3 separate regions of the Homo sapiens genome follow, and regions 1 and 2 are each linked to region 3. Evidence: promoter capture Hi-C in 16 types of primary human blood cells and fetal thymus (Javierre and others, 2016). All regions are on one chromosome and are shown on one strand. Each heading gives the region's core, a stretch centred on a gene start or on the middle of the fragment in contact. The rest is flanking DNA. Distances are from core to core; before and after follow the strand shown.

Region 1 (3,116 bases), core at 562-3,061, 140 kb after region 3:
AGGGCCTGGCTTCTCTTGGCCATCCCATATGCAGAGGGGAGAAAGGGGTTCTTGCTCTTTTCCCCTTCCTTCTTTCTCCTGGATTCCCTCCTCCGAGTGTGGGCCTGCACCGATGCCACGCCAGCCCTCCGGACCCGACAAAGGCAGCCCTACCCTTTCAACTCTGGAAACTCAGCCTTTCGTATTTATTCCGTTCTAATCCTGTCAAGAGAGGGAGATCTCATTTCCTCCCCTAGCCGAGGGTCGGGGGAGAGAAGTGGGCTCTGTGGGGACAGGCCTGGGTGGGAAGAGGCTTGCAGATATTTTTAGAGACATGGGAATTAGGCAGGCAGGGGCCTTCTGGAGCTGGAAACAATTCCAGTCCCAATTCCAAAAGGCCAAATGGGTGGTGGAGAGTGAGGGGCCTTGGAGGTGGAGTGGGCAGGCGCAGGTTCTGGGGAAAGAGGTTGAGGCTGAGCGCTGAGCTCCCTGGAGCTGCTTTACCTTTCTTCCTGCTGCCAGCGGTTTCCTCGCTTATCAAAAGGTGCGTGAATGCCACTACTTGGCATTGGAACCCTGGTGCCTGGCCCCAGCAGGACACCCCCAGCAGCCCACTCTTGGCAGAAGCAGCGCAGGGAGGCAACATGGCAGGTGGATGAAGGCCCATCACCCCCAGCTTCCTTTGCTGCTGGCTCTGGTTTGATAGCAGAAGAATGACACAGGATCTAAAATAAGATTTTTTCAATTATCTGCAGGCTTCCAATGGGTCAGGCTACCTCGGTTCTCAAAGACCACAAACTTAGTCTTAAACATCTGTGTGGTGCCTCACTCAAAAAGCTTCTCTCAATAGCCTCTGGAAAAGTCAGACAAATCTGGGGGTAGGATGTGGAGAAAGGAAAATTGAAAGGAAAGTGAGAGACCCTGGGTGCCTCCTGCTGCTGTTGGGAGTGAGCCAGTTCTGGACAGAGGTAACTATCAGCTGTCTCAAACATGCTTGCACCTCTGCACTGGCAACATTACTTCCAGGAATGTTCTCTGAAGCATCATATTAAAAAAGTAAAAATCTGAAAACAACTTGGATGTCCGAAAGTACAGAATAAAGGAATCAAATACAGCCACCCAATGGAATGGGGTGTAGCTATTAAAGACCATGCATAGAAGGATAGGAAAGGAATTGTGAGATAGAATTTGTTTTGTTTTTTTAAGAGACAGGGTCTCCCTCTGTCACTCAGGCTGGAGTGCAGTAGTGCAATCCTAGCTCACCGCAGCCTGGAACCCCTGGCTTCAAGCGATCCGCCCACCTTGGCCTACCACAGTGTTGGGATTACAGGCATGAACCACCATGCCTGGCCAGAATATTCTTATTAAAAATAACTGGTTTATTTAAAAATTATTGTTTTTAGGTCTTACATAAGCACATAAATACACATCATAAGAGAATAGATACATAACCACAATATGAACCGATTTTTACCTCCGTGTGGGGTTTAATAGGCAATTTTGCTGCATGATTTTGTTTCCCCAAATTTTCACCATGAACTGATTTTACTTCTGACATTAGGTGGGGGAATCACTGCTTCTTCAGCCCCTCTGCTTTGGCTGATCCTGCCTTTTGCATGTGACACTCCCTTCCTGCTCCACACCCCAGAATGTTCCTAGATTGTTCTTCCCCAGGGAGTTGCAAGGCTGCCAGCCTGGCTACGATAGCCGGGCAGGCACGTGTGCCTGTCTCAGTGCTTATGCTCCCTGCGATGGCTGGCCCCTTGGTCTTCCCAGCAGCCGACGAGATTCTAGAAGACAAGGATGCTTTTTCATATTTATTTTCCACCTCTGAGCCCCTCTGAGGCACACAGCAAGGCAGCAATGGGTGAATGAATCCAAGCTCCCTTGTGGTTTCCCCAGGCCCCAAGGAGAGTCACTGGGAAGACATCTGGAGTGAGGAAAAGGAAAATATATTAGTGCTCTGAGGCCCTGGGTAAGGACAGGGCTGAGCCCCAGATCTGCCTGATGGTATTGCTCAAGGCAGCCGGAGTATCAGCTGTGGAACCTGCCCAGTCAACAACAAGGGTCTTATTGTTAGTCCCAGGTAGGTGATTGGGCCCCATCAGTAAATGGCCTTATTCACCAGAGGGAAATGAGATAAACTGTCTCCTCTCCCTCCAACCTTTCTGGAACAACAGTCATCATTAACCCTTGGGTTTCCAACCAGAAGAATCTGGAATTTCAACTATTTATGAAAGTATCTTTTCCTCATAAAATTTTCTCCAAGGTACTGGAGCAAATTATAGATGGTACATTTAATGCAGGATGCCAACACACACAGGTCCCCTGGCAGGCATGTGCATTGACTCTGAGACACACACACACACACACACACACACACACACACACACACACACACACACACACCCTGCACACACACACACCCTGCCAAGCACAAAGAGCTACACAGGCCCAGACCAACAATATGACCCACACAGGGGACAGTGTGGGAAAGGACAGGGAACAGTGGCATGGAAACAGGTGGGTACAAGGCAGGCACGATATGCCCATGATGGACACCAACACGTGTCGACAGGCTGCGGGCCAGTTCCTGACACACAGAGGGGCCTCCAGTTAAACACAGGTGACTTAACACACCAGAATGTTCAATTGCCTGCTAAAACCCTAATTAATATGACCATAAAGTGTGTGTGGGGGGGAGGTATAAACTCTCAAGGATGAAAAGCTGGAGAGGAGACAAGAGCAGATATAAGATATCAAGTAAACTTTGAGTGGGAAGTGGCTGGATACATGGAAAGTGGCCTGGTGGCATGGAAGAAGCTTCCTGAGGACAGCTAGGAGGAGGCAGGCTGGCACTGCTGCAGACACCAGAAAGCTCAGGGCCTGGGGGCAGAGGGGACTCCAACAGCAGGGGCAGGGCTGAGAGCAGGAGAACTGATCAGCACCCGTACAAGGGCAGGCAGATCCCAGGGCTTGGCTCTGGCCAGAGAATCCTATATACTGACCAGCACGGAGGGTTGCCCTAGGAGGGCCCCTAGAGTCAGGGGCAGCAGGCACAGCTGAGGGGGCAGGGGAAGTAGGGGTGAAGGACTAACAGCAGGAAAAGTCCAAGAAAGTCTGCATCCTAAAAGTTG
Region 2 (3,090 bases), core at 539-3,038, 250 kb after region 3:
TGATGGGGCTGAGAAGCAAGATTTTAAGTTTAAATCTCCACAAGACACTAGCAGCCACTTGTAGCATGCGAGCTGCATGAACGGATTCTGCCGCATGGCTCCTCCTTGGCTTTAGCCAGGTAGCACTCAGGTCAGCGCTACCCATCAGGGCCTTGCCTCATTGACTTCTGCCATGCCCAAAACCAGCTGTTTGGTCTGGGCCACACAGAGGCCCCACGGCTGACTCACCACACCCCTCATCCTGAGTGAGCGGTCAGCAGATCTTTCCTTTCCACTGAGAACGTGAGTTTCAGCGTGCACAGGAGTCTTGGTCTTGGCTGCCCAGTTAGTCACGTGGCCGCCCTAAACATCTGCTCCTCCTGTGCCAGGAGTGGAAGGAGCAGCTCAAAACCAAGCCCCATGCCACAGCAGGTGGGCCCACCTGAGATTAGCACCTCCCTTTCCACCAGGAGCCAAGAATACCCAGGTTGCTCATTTGAACCCATATGGTGAAGTTTCTCTCTCTCTCTTACTCTCTCGCTCTCGCTCTTGCTCTCTCTCTCTCTGTAATTTATTCTGTAATTTCGGTTTTCAAAAACAAAACCCTTCCATAGTACAAAGTTCTCAGACTGGGTGCTGTCTCCAGTGAGTTCCTTGTAAAACAAATACGTGTTGCTTGTGGTTGTACAAGTTGCACAGCTACGCCAGGAGGAAGTAGACAGCTGTGAACGAGCTGGGGCCACACCTGCTTTGTGGTGGGGCTGTCCCTTGCATCCTAGGATGGTTGGGAACATCCCTGGCCTCTACCCCCAGATGCCAGTAGCAATCCCTCCCACCCCCATCATTGAGACACCCCAGATGTCCCCAGCATGGCCACATGTCTCCTGACAGTGAAGGCAGAAGCACTTTGGTTGAGAACCGCTGGTGCAGAGCAGAAATGGCCTGATGAGAAGAGGGATGAGAGGCTGAGGTGCCTGCAGTCTCCCCTCTGTGTGTCTCCAATCCACTTTTGTGTTTTACATATGTAGGGAGGCATTATGAACAATGTCTAGTGCTATGTTGGGGTCCGTGTTTAAAATGTACTTACGTGCAGCTGTGCTCTGCCCTGCCTGTCCGCGCTCGTTGCTGTGTGGCTTGTGTCTTTGACCTGTTCTGTGATGCTCCATTACAAGAGCACATTGCATCACATTCATCCCTTTCCCGGTTACTATATCAGGCAGGACCTGGGCAGGAAACAGTGGTGCGGTCAACATGAAAAAGAGCTGAATGGACAGACTTTAGCAAAGCGTAGGCAGGGCTGACAAAAACAGTGCCACGTTGTCTTCCTGGGGTTCATGGTTTCAGATGCTGCTGCAGGGACTGTCTCTGCTCATGGCTCCTAGTGTCCATGTGCAGAAGCATCTCCAAAGGCCCTTGCAAGGGGACTCACTGGGGCCAGGTTATCCACAAACACCGTGATACTCAAAATCTAGTTTTACCCTAAGGAGGTAGGGGATGACTCTTTGGATCTAGAAGTGAAGGCACCTCCTAAGGGAATTTATCCTGAGTCACCTCCTCCTGGCAACTCACCCAAGGACTCCCCATGGGGCTTCCTCACACAGAGATATCCCCTACCATAGGAAAAAGACTCCTGGGTCCGGCCTCAGCTCCCTCTCGTTGGCTGTGCCTGTGTTTCTCACTCATCTGGCCAACCCACAGAAGTGGGTGGAGCCGGGTCTGTGCTGGGCTCTGGGGAGCATCTGACGAGTCACTGCAGAAGCAGCACTTTCTGCAGGAAGAACAGAAGTGTCTGCCTGTCTCTCACTTCCTTTTTGGGGCCTGGGAGGGTTGGCCTGTGAGTGGCCAGCTGCTATTTATGGGGCTCGACTGCTCTGTGTGAAACCCCAGTCTCTCTCGAGAGGGAAGAGTAGTGGGAAAGGGTGGTGCCAGGTGACATTGCCCCTGGTCTGGGGTACAATCAGCCCAGGTGCAGCGGTCACAACGTCAGAGTAGGGGGTGTAGCTCAGGGGTAGAGCATTTGACTGCACAACGTCAGAGTGAAACCCATCTAGGTCAGGATGGACGTGATGGGTTTCCTAACAAATCAACTCTGTGTTCCTTGTATTTGTAGACGCTCAGTGTATAGAGTGGGCTTTTAGTTGGGTGACCACATTCCAACCCCCCTGATTTGGACAGAAGGGGAAACTGAGGCCCACAGAGGCTAAGTGCCTAGTCTGAGGTCACATGCTGAGCTTGGGACATCAAGAGGACTAGAGTCCATAGTCTGGACTCTCATTCTAGTGCTCTGCCTTTTCATGGGGGTGGCAGGGTCACCCGTTTGGCGCAAAATTAAGCTGAGTTTCAAAGGCCACTGAGCATCTTCCCCAGCCCCAGCCATTCTCAGGGTCCTGGGAGGAGGACAACTGTCTCCTGTATTGTCTTGAACCCCTGGTGGATGGGCGGGGCAGGGGGTAGGAAGGGGCAGAGAAGGGGCTGTCCAGATGTGACACATCTGGAGTCTCCACATCTGCCCCAGGGGTGATGAACAGAGCTGCCCTCTCCCGCCTGTTCATGGTGGCCTTCGGTCATCTTTAGTTTTGTACCACCCGGGTTGCTTTTGGGTGTGCCTTGTGACCTGTTCTCGCTGGAATGAAATGGCCTGTGCATTCCTCCCTTCCTCCTCCTCCCTCTCCACCTCCCTCCCTCCCTCCTCCCCCATACGTGTACTGAGCCCATACTCTGTGCCCCTTGCCTTTGAGATGAATGGCCGGGGCTGTCCTAACTGAGGAGGCAAGATTTGGGCAAGCTTCCTGGGAGGCAAGCAGTCACCCAAGCACACATCTGGGCAGAGAGCATTCCAGGCAGCGGAACAGCACAGAGGGGAAGTTGTCAGCATTGGCCTGGTGTGAGCAGGGGAGAGTGGCAGAGGGCTCAGGGAGAGAAGGCCCAGGTTCAAGGCCCAGGGCCATTATAAAGATCCAGTGTTTAGTCAGAGCAGCTGGGGAGTGGCAGAGGTTCCTGGGCAGTGGAGGGCTCAGCTGTGGCTCAGGTGCTAACAGAGTACATGGCACCTGGGGGTGGGGGGGCCTCTGAGAAGGGGCTGGTAGGGGGTGGCTTGAAGCAGGCCTGAAG
Region 3 (3,532 bases), core at 116-2,615:
CTCTTTACCTCGTAATCCGCCCACCTCGGCCTCCCAAAGTGTTGGGATATTATAGGCGTGAGCCACCGCGCCCGACCAGAACATGGAAATTTAAAGAGAAAAAAATAAGTGACTTCTGATTTCAAAAACACAACCACCCACTTTTCTATTCTATTCCTGGTGAGCACATTCTGGAGACTCTGCGGCAACCATAGCCTCGGCCGCGGCGGAAGGCTCCGGGGCGGCCACACCTCAGGGGGCAGCCACACCTCAGGGGGCAGCGCGCACAGGCGGGTCAGGCTCTGATTCCCATCTCTCTCCGGTCTTCACTGGAAGGACCCACACTACATCACAAACTAATGGCTTTACAATTAACTTCTAAGTAGCTAAATTTAGTAATGGGCGCTCTAGTTTTAAAAAATATTATTCAGGCCGGGCGCGGTGGCTCACGCCTGTAATCCCAGCACTTTGGGAGGCCGAGGCTGGTGGATCACCTGAGGTTAGGAGTTCAAGACCAGCCTGGCCAAAAGGGTGAAAACCCGTCTCTGCAAAAATACAAAAAATTAGCCAGGCGTGGTGGCGGACGCCTGTAGTCCCCAGCTACTCGGGAGGCTGAGGCAGGAGAATCGCTTGAACCCGGGAAGCGGAGGTTGCAGTAAGGCGAGGTCGCGCCACTGGACTCCAGCCTGGGCAACAAGAGCGAAAGCGAAACTCTGTCTCAAAAAAAGAATATTATTCAAAAACTGATTTTCACATTTTTAAAAAAGACCCACTGAGGGAGGAAGACCGAATCCCACACATGCGCGCGCACAGCGGTTCCGAGTTCTGCAACCAACCTCCCACGGGCGCCGCGCCTTCTCCGCGTCACGTGACGGCCGTCTCCCGCACCTTCCATACTCTCAATGTAGGGAGAGGACGGGTTCCATCAGCAATTTAATAAAAACCATTGGTGAAGCAAAAAAAAAAAGCCTGCCAACCTCTTATAACGTTTTTTCTTTATTTTTCTCTTTTATGTGGACAGGAAGCCTTAGGTTGGCTATATTTACCCTCAAATCTCTTTTTAAAATGATTTTTAAGTTTCAGCATACTCCCGCGCTTAATGAAATGGTTTCCCCCAGCATCCCCAGCTGGTGCGGTCTGAACCATTCGGAACTTCCCAGAGGGGGGCACCGGAATAGGGGCGGTGGAAAAGGGTAATTGTCGGGCAGCGGCCCCTGCTTCCCAGTCAGACCTCGGAGTTGTAGGACTCGGACTGTGTTCCTGGGCTTGCGAGAGCTAGGGAGGCCCGGCTCTCCTCGCGGTGCAGGACGCGCTCGGACGGCTCCCGCACCCCCACCGCAGTGTTGGGTGGTGGTACGGCTCAGGGAGTCACGCGCCTGGGTGTCGGCGGGGCTGCGGGACCGCGAGTGAGTGTGGTCGCTCCTGGTTCTGCCAGCTCCCCTGAGAGCCTGAACCCGGGCTTGAGAGCCTCGCCACCCCGGGTGACATCCCTGCCGTGGGCTTGGGGGCTCTGGGTGTGATTCCGCCGGTCCGGGTCCCGCAGCGACCACCTACCCAGCGCAGTCAGGGGCGGGGCTGGGACCCAGAGCGGGACCCCGGCTGCCGAGTCCAGGTGTCCCGCGGGCCTCGATTTGGGGAGCAGGTAGGCGGGGGTCTGAGGGGTTGGCGGAGGGGCATGTCCGAGTTTTCGTTGGTCCCAGGTGGACGAGTAATGGGGGAGGGTTTAGGGCCAGAGTCCAGGGCGTCGCCGAGACCCTGAGATTTGAAGATAGGTTGGGGGCACGCCCATTAACCAAGTCTATGGGGATGAGGACTGTGATCTCATTTGATGTTGCCATGAAACGGGACTGTTTGCCTTCCCTTCTCCCAGGTTTTGTCTTCGCTCTGTTTGGAGGAGAGGGTGTGTGTCATCCTCTTCTCCCAGTTTGGCGTTCAGGAGGGTCCTCTGATGCGCTAATAGGGTAGCACCGTGTCCTCCAGGGAGGGTGGAAGACCGCGCTTCTCTCCAGTTGAGAGTACTGTCAGTCGCGTCCTTGTCTCCTGGAAAGAATGGATTGGCTTGTGGATTGAAGTCCAAGGTGTGGTCACTAGCAGTCTCTTCAAGTGGGGACACAGGGCAAGGAGGAGCTTGCTGGAAGTAGGTTCTGGCTCTCTAGCCTTTGGCCACAGCCAGTTTAGTGCCAGATTATCACCGTGGTCATCAAGTAATTGAGTAATAGTGGCAGGTGACACTGCGTTTGCCCTTCTAGTGTCCTATGTCAGGGAGCTCTGTGAATGGAAATCCAGGGAAACGGTGGAAATAGAGCCACAGTGAGAGTGGATCTGAACTGGCAGTCATCCCCTGCAGAACTTTTCACCCTGGGCTTGTTGGGATCCCAGCTGCTAACTTAATGAGGCTCCCCAGTGGGAGACTAGTTATAGAAGCTGTGTGTCCACTGCTGGTTAAGATCCGTTATAGTGCTTTGTTTATTTAGAGTGCCCTTACTTAGTGGCCTCTTTAATTCTCCACGGTGCTATGAGAACACCATAGGAAGTAGGGTTGAAATAGGGCCAGGGCGCACCACGGGTGGTGGTGAGGTCACTGTCCAGGTCTGGGACTCAGCCATTGTGGGAGGGGGACATGAACAGACACTCTACCACATCAGGGAATTTGAATACTGTCTTTGGATATGTTGATGAAGAGACTGTCAGCCAGGGCATTTCGGCTTCCTATGTGGGTTCTGGAAAGCTTGTTGGAAACAGACTCGTGAGACACACTCAAACCAGTTTGTTTTCTTCAGCAAACACCTGGTAGAGATTGGAATTGAACAGTGAGTGAAGAATGACCTCACGCTGCCCAGAATTCTGATTCCATGTGTAATGCGAATTCTGAGAGGCCTCTGTTTCTCAGCTTTTGGGTGGTATTCAGAGAGGTCTAGTAACACTTGGTGTCACCTGGCTGGTGAGGGCAGGCTCCGGTGACCGCAAAGCTAAGTGCTCTGTAGGGCACCTCCCTCTCTTTCAGGGGCTGCCTGGGCCTCTGGTGCACATGATCCATGGAGTCAGAGTCAGAGCTCTCGTCTGACAAGTGCTTTTGCTTTCTTTCTTTCTTTCTTTCTTTTTTGGAGACAGAATCTCATTCTGTCGCCCAGGCTGGAGTGCAGTGATGCGATCTCGGCTCACTGCCACCTCCGCTTCCAGGCTCAAACGATTCTCCTGCCTCAGCCTCCTGAGTAGCTGGCACTACAGGCACGTGCCACCAGGCCTGGCTAATTTTCGTATTTTGTATTTTTTGAAATGGAGTTTTACTCTTATTGCCCAGGCTGGAGTGCAATGGTGCGATCTCAGCTCACTGCAACCTCCGTCTCCCAGGTTCAAGCAATTCTCCTGCCTCAGATTCCCCAGTAGCTGGGATTACAGGCATGCACCACCACCATGCCTGGCTTTTTTTTTTTTTTTTTTTTTGAAATGGAGTCTTGCTCTGTGGCCCAGGCTGGAGTGCAGTGGTGCGATCAGCTCACTGCAAGCTGTGCCTCCTGGGTTCACGCCATTCTCCTCCCTCGGCCTCCCCAGT

The links. The method cuts DNA at HindIII sites, captures the fragments that hold promoters and counts their contacts. A CHiCAGO score of 5 or more calls a contact.
Region 1: a fragment that was not itself captured here is called in contact with the fragment with the promoter of FLCN in region 3 in 1 of 17 cell types (non-activated CD4 T cells); the score reaches 5.2 in non-activated CD4 T cells.
Region 2: the fragment with the promoter of LINC02090 here is called in contact with the fragment with the promoter of FLCN in region 3 in 16 of 17 cell types (naive B cells, endothelial precursors, total B cells and 13 more); the score reaches 12.5 in naive B cells.

Annotation. Positions count from the first base shown.
Region 1 is chr17:17,095,561-17,098,676 of GRCh38, reverse strand. All of the region lies in intron 3 of MPRIP (myosin phosphatase Rho interacting protein), which reads right to left. Among named protein-coding and RNA genes, the nearest start is that of MPRIP, 55 kb to the right of the region's middle. RefSeq lists an enhancer at 2,403-2,989. The HindIII fragment of the contact is 1,986 bases long and covers 819-2,804 here.
Region 2 is chr17:16,987,027-16,990,116 of GRCh38, reverse strand. LINC02090 (long intergenic non-protein coding RNA 2090) reads right to left here and starts at 1,788. Exons shown (of 3, transcript NR_146886.1): 1 at 1,594-1,788; 2 at 1,067-1,202; 3 at 1-8. RefSeq lists enhancers at 1,446-1,665, 2,298-3,090. The HindIII fragment of the contact is 6,040 bases long and covers 1-2,766 here.
Region 3 is chr17:17,235,001-17,238,532 of GRCh38, reverse strand. FLCN (folliculin) reads left to right here and starts at 1,365. Exons shown (of 14, transcript NM_144997.7): 1 at 1,365-1,621. RefSeq lists a silencer at 419-604 and an enhancer at 1,039-1,148. The HindIII fragment of the contact is 3,806 bases long and covers 1-2,709 here.